Regions from separate parts of the Homo sapiens genome. Here region 2 is linked to region 1. The links are contacts of gene promoters, found by promoter capture Hi-C in human tissues and cell types (Jung and others, 2019). All regions are on one chromosome and are shown on one strand. Each heading gives the region's core, a stretch centred on a gene start or on the middle of the fragment in contact. The rest is flanking DNA. Distances are from core to core; before and after follow the strand shown.

Region 1 (5,272 bases), core at 1,447-3,946:
GAACCTGAATTTTTCTAGAAAAATGTAATAGGCAGGGCACCCAATCCAAAGGGATGGCCCCCAGTGGCAACCCTGAGTAAAGTAAGGCCAATTCACTGTCACATTGCTTGGTCAATTTCACTATGAATCCACGCTCCGAGGACGCACTCTTGCCCAGTAGGCACCACCCCTCACTGGCAACAGAGAGACAGCAAATTGCTCCGCACCCCAGTAGCACAGGCTTTCCCTGCGCCGGGTGTGGTGCATCCCAGGAGAGCTTTCTCACACCAGGTGGCATCCAGGTGGATCTGGCGACCGCCCAGCAAGCATGTATCCCCTCTCACAAAAGGGAAGAAAAGGAAGAGTGGCCAAGAAGGGGTGGAAACCCCAGTTTTCCTCTATAAATGTGACGCCGGATTTTAACCTCTCCCTCGGCAAATCTACATATCAGACAAAAAAGAAACTAATATAGATATTAGTCTTGTACTGACTTAGACTTTCACTTACCCCGCCCCTTGTTTCTTAATGGCCTTTTTTCTTTTTTTTAAACTCTTGTACCTAGGTTAGCCTGTTTCCTGTTCATATTAAGGAATCCAGGCCCTTTGCAGTAAAGAAAGCCAAGGATACCCTGGAGCTTTATATTAGGAATGTTTCTAGATTGTTGGTTGAAAGCATGTCCATTTCTTAATTTGCACCCTAAACACACTTCACGGCTTCATTTAAATCTGAGCACTCTGTGTATTCCAACTGCCTATGCAGGGTTCTAACTTAACCAAGTACTTAACGAGTAGCATTAATATTCGTTGTCTTCTCCACGGGTGCCTGCACTCATCAAGGTAAATAGTTACCGGCTACCTCCACGGCCCTTGATTGAGCTGAGAATTGTCTGTCCTTATCTAGACAGTGGATTGTTTGTCCCCCACCATGGGAAAACCCTGCTGGTTACTTTCCAAAGGCCTCATTTTAAAAAGACACGTTTCCACTTACAGACCTTTTAAAAATGCCAGGCAATTTGGAAGAACAGTAAGAAATCTACTATCTGCGTGACAGTCATTCAGAGATTCTTGTAGTGTGCCAGGCACCATATTAAGTGCTAGGAATGCAATGATGACTCCAAGGAGTCCTGGTTCCTGCCCTCATGATGCTTATGGTACGGTGGGAGAGGCCAACATGTAGGGAAAGGTCACTCTAATGAGCGCCTAATTACCGAGTGAGCTCAGTGTTAGGAAGGAAAGGCACGGATGTGAGGACTCCCTAGAGGGTGGGGAAGATGTTGGAGCTGAGCTATGAAAGATGAAGAAATTGGTTATTCACTGAATGTCAGGGCACAGAATGTCAGGGCAGGAAGACCACACACACACACACACACACACACACACACACACACACACACACCCTACTATTCATAGATGAGGAAACTGAGGCCCAGCAGAGCTAGATGACTTGCCGAAGGTCAGAGCTAATTCTAGAAACCCATCCCCAATCCCTTCCTGCTAAACCACTTAATTTTATTTATATCCCAGCTATAGATTATACAAATACACTTGACAAATAAAACGGAGAATATTGAGTTAAAACCACATCTCTGAAGACCACACGCATAAATAACGATCGTGTTTTAATGCGGACGATACCTTTTCATTTTGCAAATCCAGAGTTCTCATCATATCAAAATTCAAGACAGTTTGTTCTGTAAGAAGGGGAAGGTCATAACCCTGTCTAGAATGTACTGGCAAATCTCTCTAACCGTGCAGTGCTAATTTGGGCCTGAGCTGTGTAACCAGACCGACTTCACGCTCCAGCTGGGGTTTCAGATCCACACATGGCGATTGGGTGGCTCTTTGCTGTTTCACAGCAAGGGTCCTTCCCTGGGCTCCCGGAGCCTCTGGGGATTTACTGCTCCCGACGTGGCCGTGTTCAAGCCACTGTGTGCATGCGCTTAATGTTGAAAACATTCTTTTGAAAAGCCCAGGAGATTCCACTCGCAATCTGTGCGTGTGCATGTAAAAGCGCAGAGACTGGAAAGAACCGCGGCAGAGCACACCCTGACCGAAGGTTACCGCGGGGGAGCCGCGGCCGTGGGAGAGCCGCGGCCGTGGGAGGGAGTGCGATACGGTCTTTTCACTCTAGACACTCCTGAGTTATGTACAATTCTACGCAAGAATGTATGCGTGTGTTAGCATGTAATACATATGTATTAGTTTTTTCAGGAAGATTCTTAAACAACAACAAAATCTCTATAGAACAAAGGTGCGTCTCCGCAGAGCGCAACAGCATTTGTCTTGGATGTAACCGCCTTCTCCAGAAATCTCAGAGGAACTCCCCTCGACCACCGCCTAACTGAAGGACACCGTGCGCTCCACCGCAACCCTGCGGGCGATTCGGAAAGTTGGAGGCGCCCCGGGGAGTCGCCGCACTTGCCGCCCGCGCCCCCTAACCTGAGCATTCAAGGAGTCTTGACTTGGCCGCTGGCGCACTCCGCACCCACCCAGCCGGTGCTGATGCGGGAGGGTGGGGCCGCGGCGGGGCGGGGCAACGCGAGCCCGCACCCCGCTCCTCCCCGCCCCTCCCTGCCGGCCCCGCCCGCGCGCGCCCCCCGCCCGCGGCCCGGGCGCCCGGCCCGCCCCCTCCCCTCGGCGCGCAAACGAACCTCGCGACGCCGCGCTCGGCGGCGGGCGGGGGCCGGGCGAGGGAGGGGGCTGGTCCCGGCCGCCCCACTCTGCAGTTGTCTCCCGAGCGCTGGCTGCGCCGCCCGAGCCGCTGGGCCGGGGAAGCACTGGCCGTTCGCTCCCGGGCCGGCTCCGCCAGGCGCTCGCAGGCATGCAGCCCGGGAGCAGGAGGCGCTCCCCGGGCCGCTGCTGAGCCGGCCGGGGCGGCGGGGACCAGCGCCAGCGGAGCCCCTCCCACCTTGCCCCGGGGCAGACGAGCGGCGCCCCGACACCCCCTCTTCTCCCGCAGCCCCGCCAGCGCCACCCCCCGCGGGCCGCAGGGGCTCATGCAGCCGCCAAGGTAAGCGCGGGTCGGGAGCCGGGCAGACCCGGCTCTGACATCTCCGAGGCGCCGCCGACACATGCCGGGGCCACGGCGCTGCTTTGGTCTTCCTTAGCCCCGCGTCTCATCTTGCTCCCATCTTGCCCACATTTGGAGCTTTGCTGCGCCTCTATCGCTTTAGCTGTTGGCAGCAGGAAAGTTTTTGTGGTTTGGTGTTTGTTCTTTTTTCCTAAAATACTCTCCCCCGGGCAGCCGCCAGCGCGCGTGGTTGGGCAGACCCGGCACACGTCCCTTACACCGTGTGCGGGCTGGGAGCTCCTTCCCTCAGCCCGGCTCGCGGAGCCCCGGACGGAGCCGGCCACCCGACTGTCCCGCCGTGAACCCCCATTGGCCCGCGCCGCCCGGGCCCCCGCCTCCCGCTCGACGCCCGGCTGCGGAGCTGCCTGGCCATCTCCTGCCCTCGGGGATGTCGGCGCAGTGCACCGCGTGGGCTCGCGTCCCGGCGGCCCTTTGCCTCGGCGCGCCGGCGTACGGGAAGGTGCGGACCTTGGATTGAGGGCCGAGGATGCCCATTGCCAAGCCGCCCCGGCTTTCCTAAGTGGACGGGAGGGCACGGCGACGATTCAGCGCCGGCTCGCGCCGCAGCTCAACCCAGGGTACAAGCCCGGGCATGGGGGACAGGTGTATTCAATGGGAGGGCGGGTGTGGGGGACGCTCGGGTGCAATTCGGGATTGCGTCTTATTAATGTAATTGTATTAGACTTGCTCGGAGGTAGAATCAGTTCTCCCAAATTGAGATTTCTAATGGGAGCCTGTGAGCTGCTATTATGTGGTGTGGTTTTGGGAGGTGTTGGGTTGTATTTATTTTATAAATTGGGTGTCTCGCGGGCGGAGTAGGGGAAGTAGCGCCATCTAGCGGAAGTGGTGAGCTGTGCATTCCTCTTAGGCTGCGAAGTTGTTGGGTGTTCTCAAAGTAGTCTCCCGCACAAGGTGGAGAGGCGGGAACCAGCCCTCGCCTCCAGGAAGGAGGCTACAGAAGCTCTCTGAGTATCGACGGTACCAGGGAGAACCCCGACCTCCCATGCTCAGCACATTGAGCTCAGGGGACGAAATTGCGGGTCGTGTTGAGTGGCATGCTGTCACCTAAAGGAGCTCCATCACCTTCTCTGTTTGGTTTTAGACTCTTCCAGCAAAAACGTAATATAAAATGTTAACTGCTGTAAGAAGATGCCCCTTCCGCAGGTATCTGGTGCAGAGATCTTGAAAACCAATGCACAAACCTCTGTCTTCTCCTGTGCATCACAAACGGGTGATTTCTTGGGTGGATTTTGAGCCATGACCCCTAGAAAAGAGAGTAACTGTGCTCCGAAGGGCAACAGGAGGAGAACTGGGAGAGGGCCTCCTGCCCATTTGTGCAGGAACAGAATAGTGTACCCAAACTGGGTTTTGTGGTTTTTTTTTTTTTTTTTTTTGCACATACAAAGAAGGGGTTTCTTGCTGTTACCACAGCAAGTGACAAGCAAGCCCCCTTTACAGGGACATGATCTCCAATTAACAACTGGGGCAGACGTGGCTGGATGGCAAGTTCTGCAGACAAAGGCTCTGGGTGGGGCACCCACACATCCAGGCGGGCTCCACGTTCTCTGTGGCTGGTTTTTGCTGCCACCTTCCAGGCCAGATAATATATTAGCAGTGAGCTGGGCTCACCCGGTTCTGAAGGGCACCCTGGCCCCTTGTAGAGCAGTGTAGTGGTCTACTGTAGTACCCCCTTGAGACTCTCTGGGCTGTGCTGGTAGTGAAAGAGGTCTTAGCCTCCTTTTTTCAAGTACCCTGCTTCCATTATTTCCCTCCCAGGTGTCAGACAGTTGCTTACATTCTCCAATAGACATATGAAATGGTGGGTGGCTGGTCTGCCCCGTCATGCTGTCTCAAACTGTGTCTCCATTGGTAGGTATTTATGTCATCATGAGACTTGTGACAGACGAGGTCTTAGAATAGCTTGGCATCTCATTCAAGGAGGGCACCTTTGACTTTTGCTAAGAAACCTCTGCCTGCTTTCTCTTTTTACAAACCTCCTCCAAGGAATAACTTGCTGCTTCCCAGTGTATGTAATAATAGACAATAAAGGCACAAGAATCTCCTTTTTAATACAATCCCTTGCTCTTCAGCAGCCCTGTGAGAAGCCAAGCCCAAGAATTCTTAGACGAGCAGTTGCAAAATGAAATAAATAGGGACTGAGCATCCCTGACACTGGGACAGGGAGTTTTTCAGCCATTCTTCCAGGGATGCTTGCTGCTCCCAG
Region 2 (5,087 bases), core at 682-3,181, 510 kb before region 1:
TGTAAAAATGAATGGAGACTGGAGGAAGCCTCAGGGGCTCACAGCAACAACGTTCCTGGAAGGCAAAAGGCTTCAAGTGTTCTTCAGTGTTAAACACTTGGGATAGATTCAGGAGAAGGGCATTCAAAGTCGTCTCTTTTTGGGGAGGTGGGAAGGCAGATGGGGACCACCAGGAGGAAAGAATGCAGCTGAAGAAATTTACACAAGAAGGAGCCAAATGAACTGCTTTAAAACCTTCCTTACGGTGGCTCTCCCTATATGGACAGTGATCAAACTTCCCAGTTTGCCCAGACCTGAGGGGTTTTCTGGAACCTGGAATTTTCAATACTAAAACCAGGACAGTTCCAGGCAGCCAAGATGAATTGGTCAGCCTACTATACTTACCCCGCTCCTGTTGGTGAAATCCCTGTACCCTTCATTCTTGGGGTGTGGTGGTATTTCTCTACCAAACTACACTTTGTCTTCTCTCTTTTTAAAGCTGTTTCATCTTTTTCACTTGTCTAATGTTTCCACCGAGCATGCAGAGGGATAGGAAAAACCAAGTGGCCTCTGTTTCTTAGTAGTCTGCTGGTGCCTATAGAAATATTTTGTTTCTATTAAGCTTTTCTCCAGTTTACTTCTAAAGGAAAGTAGCAGAACAAGGCAGCCCACCCCAAAATGAGAGTTTTACCATTTCATTCCACATGCTCCCAATAGACACTGTTTTTAGGAGAAAATATGCTTTCTCCTGATTCTACAAACATGATGGGAAATGTTTCTCTCTGAATAGCTGCTGTGGCCTGGATCTGCTGGTGATGTTATCTGCTTAAACAATTACTTTTGCTGGAAGGAGAGTTGATTGGGTGCATAAAGATACTTCAGATAGGCTTTTGGTTCTTGAAAACCAGTGGTCATGGCCATCTCCTTAGCCAGCTAAGGGCACTGGATGTCCCTCTCCAGAGCCCACCGTGCAACAGCAGAAGGGATACAGCCAAGCCGAATTACAGCAATTACTCTCCATTTTTACTCAAATGTAATTTACCTCCACTCACATTCATCAGCTTTGACAAACAAACCACTGTTCTTCATCTCTGAGCGATCAGAGCCTGTTGGGGAGAGGAAGAGAGACACCTTCCCCTCCACACATACCCATAATTAACCAGTTAAGGCAGACAGTGGCGGGCTATAGAATTTTGCTACTGAAGTGTGGTCCCTAAGGACAGCATCAGCATCATTTGGATGCTTCCTAGACATGCATTGTCTCCAGCCCACCCCAGATCGAGTCAGAATCTGCATTTCAACATGCTCTGCAGGTGATTCCTGTTCACTCTAAAGTCTGAGAAGCACAGAAAATGGGAAATCAATGTGCTTGCACTGGGAAGGAGGAATACATGCTAGCGGGGAGGAGCCTTCCTGAAGGATGGATGAAGGAACCCCAAAAGCAGTGACGTGATCCCAGGGGAATAGCAGATGGTCACAGAGAGCAGGGAAACGCCTGAAAGAACTGGAGCTTAGGGTCGAGACTGAGATGAGTATGAGACCAGGTTCATTAAACGGGTTAAATGCCCAGCTGGCAATCTGGACTTAGTCTGAAGAAATAAGGAAAAAAATCAGTGACTGTTTTGAGGAAGAAATGCTGTGTTCAGCTCTGTGCTTTAAAAGTGCAACCCCAGCTACTGCGTGAAGGAGGGGAGAAGGGAAGTGAGGGGAGAAAAGAGAAGCATCAAGACAAGCACTTTGAAATAGCATCATACTCTACTCCCCACCAAGGGAGTCTGCAAGTAGTATAGATCCCTAAGTGCCCCCTGGACCTACCCACCAAATAAGCTGCAGCCCACTAACGCCTAGGAACACTACTGAGAGAATGATTAATCGTTAAGCCCAGCATATTGGTGTTTATCTTTAAGGATAAAATTACCATTTCTTTCCCTTGAGGCAGCTCTGATTCAGGAACTTAGTGGGTTGAATGGTGTCTCCCAGAAAGATAAGTCCACGTGCTAACCCTGGAAACTGTGTATATAACCTTACTTGGAAAACAGGTCTTTGTAGATGTAATTATCCTGGATTATAAGATGAACCCTGAATCCAGTGATGTGTCCTTATGAAAGACAGAAAAGAAATGTCCTTATAAAAGATAGAAAAATAAATAAATGAATAAATAAAAGATAGAAAAGAAGTGTCCTTATAAAAGATAGAAAAGAAGCGTCCTTGTAAAAGACAGAAAAGAAGACGTGAACATAGAGTGAGAAAAGAAGGAAGCCATGCGAGGGTAGAGGCAGAACTTAGAGTTATGCAGCCACAAGCCCTCAGAAGCTGGAAGAGAGAGGGAAGGATTCTCTTGTAGAGGCTGCAAAGGGAAGATGGCCCTACCGACACCATGATTTTTGACTTCTGCCCTCCAGAACCGTGGCAGGATATGTTTCTGTTATAAGCCCCCAATCTGTATTAATTTGTTATGGCAGCCCTACAAAACTACCACAGGGAATGACTGAGGCTTTTGGATTTCATGTGCAAATGATACTTAAAAATTAGCCCTGTCTAAACGATGACAATGATAACAGTGGTGAACGACAACAGTTCAAATTATAATAATGGTGCCCATACTTGGGCTTAGCATGCTTCTGTATCTATCTCTGTCCTGAGCCACTTTTTCACAGTTATGATTGCACAGAACCATCTGTGTTCTCTTTCCTTCCTTGTTCCTCCTAACACGTGGCTAATGATGCATCATCGGTCAGCATTTCCCAACTGATAGGCAAAAGAATGCACATCCCCCTCCCCACATATCTACATCCTCATCCCAGAACCTGTGACTGTGTTACCTGTTATGGCAAAAGAATGTTGCCTGTGTAAGACTTTGAGATGGGAGAAATTATCCTGCATTATCCACTAATGTAACACTAGTAGCACTAATGTAATTATAGGGGCTTTCTAAAGAAACGGAGAAACAGGAGATGTACGACTGAAGCAGAAATTAGAATAATGCTAAGTTCTGATCCAAGAACTGTGGCAGCTTCTAGAAGGTGGAAAGGGCCAGGAAATGAATTCTCCCTTAAAACCTCCAGAAGGCCTGCAGCTCTGCCAACTCATTTGGGCTTCTGACCCTCCAGAACCATAAGATAATAAATGTGTGTTGCTTCAAGTCACAAAGTTTGTGGCAATTTTTTATGCAACAATGCCCTGTAGTCCTAGCTATTGGGGAGGCTGAGGTAGGATAATCACTTGAGTCTAGGAGTTCAAGGCTGCCATGAGCTGTGATTGAGTCACTGCACTCCATGCTGTGGATGGGGACAAAGCAAGACCCTATCTCAAAAAAAAAAAAAAAAAGAAAAAGAAAAGAAAAGAAAACATATATATACCATTTTTTTCACTGTGCCTCCTTAATGGAAAAAAAAATTTTTTTTTTTTTGAGACAGAGTCTCACACTGTCACCCAGACTGGAGTGCAGTGGTGCCATCTCAGCTCACTGCAACCTCCATCTCCCAGGTACAAGCAATTCTCCTGCCTCAGCCTCCCCAGTAGCTGGGATTACGGTGCCCACCACCACAACCAGCTAGTTTTTGTATTTTTAGTAGAGACAGGGTTTTACCATGTTGGCCAGGCTGGTCTCGAACTCCTGACCTCAAGTGATCCGACCTTCTCAGCCTCCCAAAGTGCTGGGATTACAGATGTGAGCCACCGTCCCTGGCCAAGGAAACTTTTTAGAGCATTTCCCTAACCACTCTCCTTCCAGCATGAAATATTAATATCAAAGATATACTGTATGTCTGTCTATGTACTGTGGCTCTGAGGAGGGTCACAAACAATTTGAATAGCCAAGATTTTTTCACCCTCCAAGAACCGATTTCATTCCCTTAGGGCAATGTCACCATGTTGAAAATGCATGAACTAAGTCCTATCTGTCCGTCCTTCCTGGCACAGCTCCATTTTTATCTCCCCCATGAAGCTTCCTCAAATCAGCTAAGCAATTTTGAGTTATAGGAACATTTTATGATCTCTTCTCCTGTTGCCCACCGTGTGGTTTTAACGAACCATATGGCTTAGGTTTAAACATCTCCTTTATCAGTCAACCCTTTTCCAAAGATGAAGTGTCCAATGGCTAAGCTCTGTTCGAATGTTTTCCACACATTGAGCTGAAATCTGTCGTTCTGCAACTTCCACCCGCTGGTCTTAACCCTATCCTTTGGAAGATTCACATAAAATGCAGCTGATTCCTTTTTTTTTTTTTATTCTCCCAACATCCCTTACTTGAGGATGTTCGTCTCCTTCCCAGTCATCCTTTTTTACAGGATGAAAATCACAAGTTCCTTAAATGAGTCCTTAGGTGACGTAGCTTGTGAGCATTTTCACTGCTCTGATAATGCCATGAATGTACTCTGTTTCACTGCGGAGGCTGAATTTTGGGTAGTGGATTCCAGAATGCATCATTTTATCTCTTAAAGCTTGATACTCAGACTGGAACTAAGTTGTCTTGGTAAAGTTTGACCAGAACAGGGAAGAGCAAGATCTTACCTCCCTTTTTCTAACGTATTCCTCTACATGCAACTTTTGGCAATAATATTAATAAGTGTAATGTGGCTGACAAATTATTAAGTTTACTTACTGCGAACTAAAATGCTCAACATTAACTAGTGCTAATCCTGTGATATTTGGAGGAAAATTTTAGAACCGCATACTTATTCCTATTAATTTCTATTACATTAGTCTCTCTAATCTTTTTGATGTTTATTTAGAACCAGATTCTCACATACAACATAGGCACAGTCCCCCCTCCTAGCTTTTGAACATTTATAAATATGAATATGCCTTTATATTTCACCATGTCATTAATAAAATAATACTGAACTATCAGGATAGGACAAAGGTCAAATCCCTGAAGCACACTACTAGAATCCTCTTCAGGTAGACATTAATCAATTAACTGACTTAGCTGGGGCCACTCAACAGCCATCTAAAAATACCTACAACTCATTGATCTTTCTTGTATTTTTTCATCTAGTCGACAAGGCTTCAAAAGATATCATGCCCTTCTCTTTTCTCCTAGAGGTACCTCATTTTCTGAATCTTCAGCATAGTAGCTCTCAAAAGCACTGAATGAGACGAGTCTG

Evidence for each region. Contacts are between HindIII fragments. The study calls those that stand out against the background at their distance.
Region 2: a fragment that was not itself captured here is called in contact with the fragment with the promoter of RGMA in region 1 in 2 of the 25 tissues and cell types used here (H1 embryonic stem cells and dorsolateral prefrontal cortex).

Annotation. Positions count from the first base shown.
Region 1 is chr15:93,086,635-93,091,906 of GRCh38, reverse strand. It overlaps RGMA (repulsive guidance molecule BMP co-receptor a), which reads left to right and starts at 2,696. Exons shown (of 4, transcript NM_020211.3): 1 at 2,696-2,988. The coding sequence starts at 2,975. It overlaps LOC101927025 (a long non-coding RNA gene), which reads right to left and starts at 2,693. Exons shown (of 5, transcript XR_007064769.1): 1 at 2,630-2,693. The HindIII fragment of the contact is 13,871 bases long and covers 1-5,272 here.
Region 2 is chr15:93,599,483-93,604,569 of GRCh38, reverse strand. All of the region lies in intron 5 of LOC107983974 (a long non-coding RNA gene), which reads right to left. Among named protein-coding and RNA genes, the nearest start is that of LINC02207, 250 kb to the left of the region's middle. The HindIII fragment of the contact is 6,387 bases long and covers 1-5,087 here.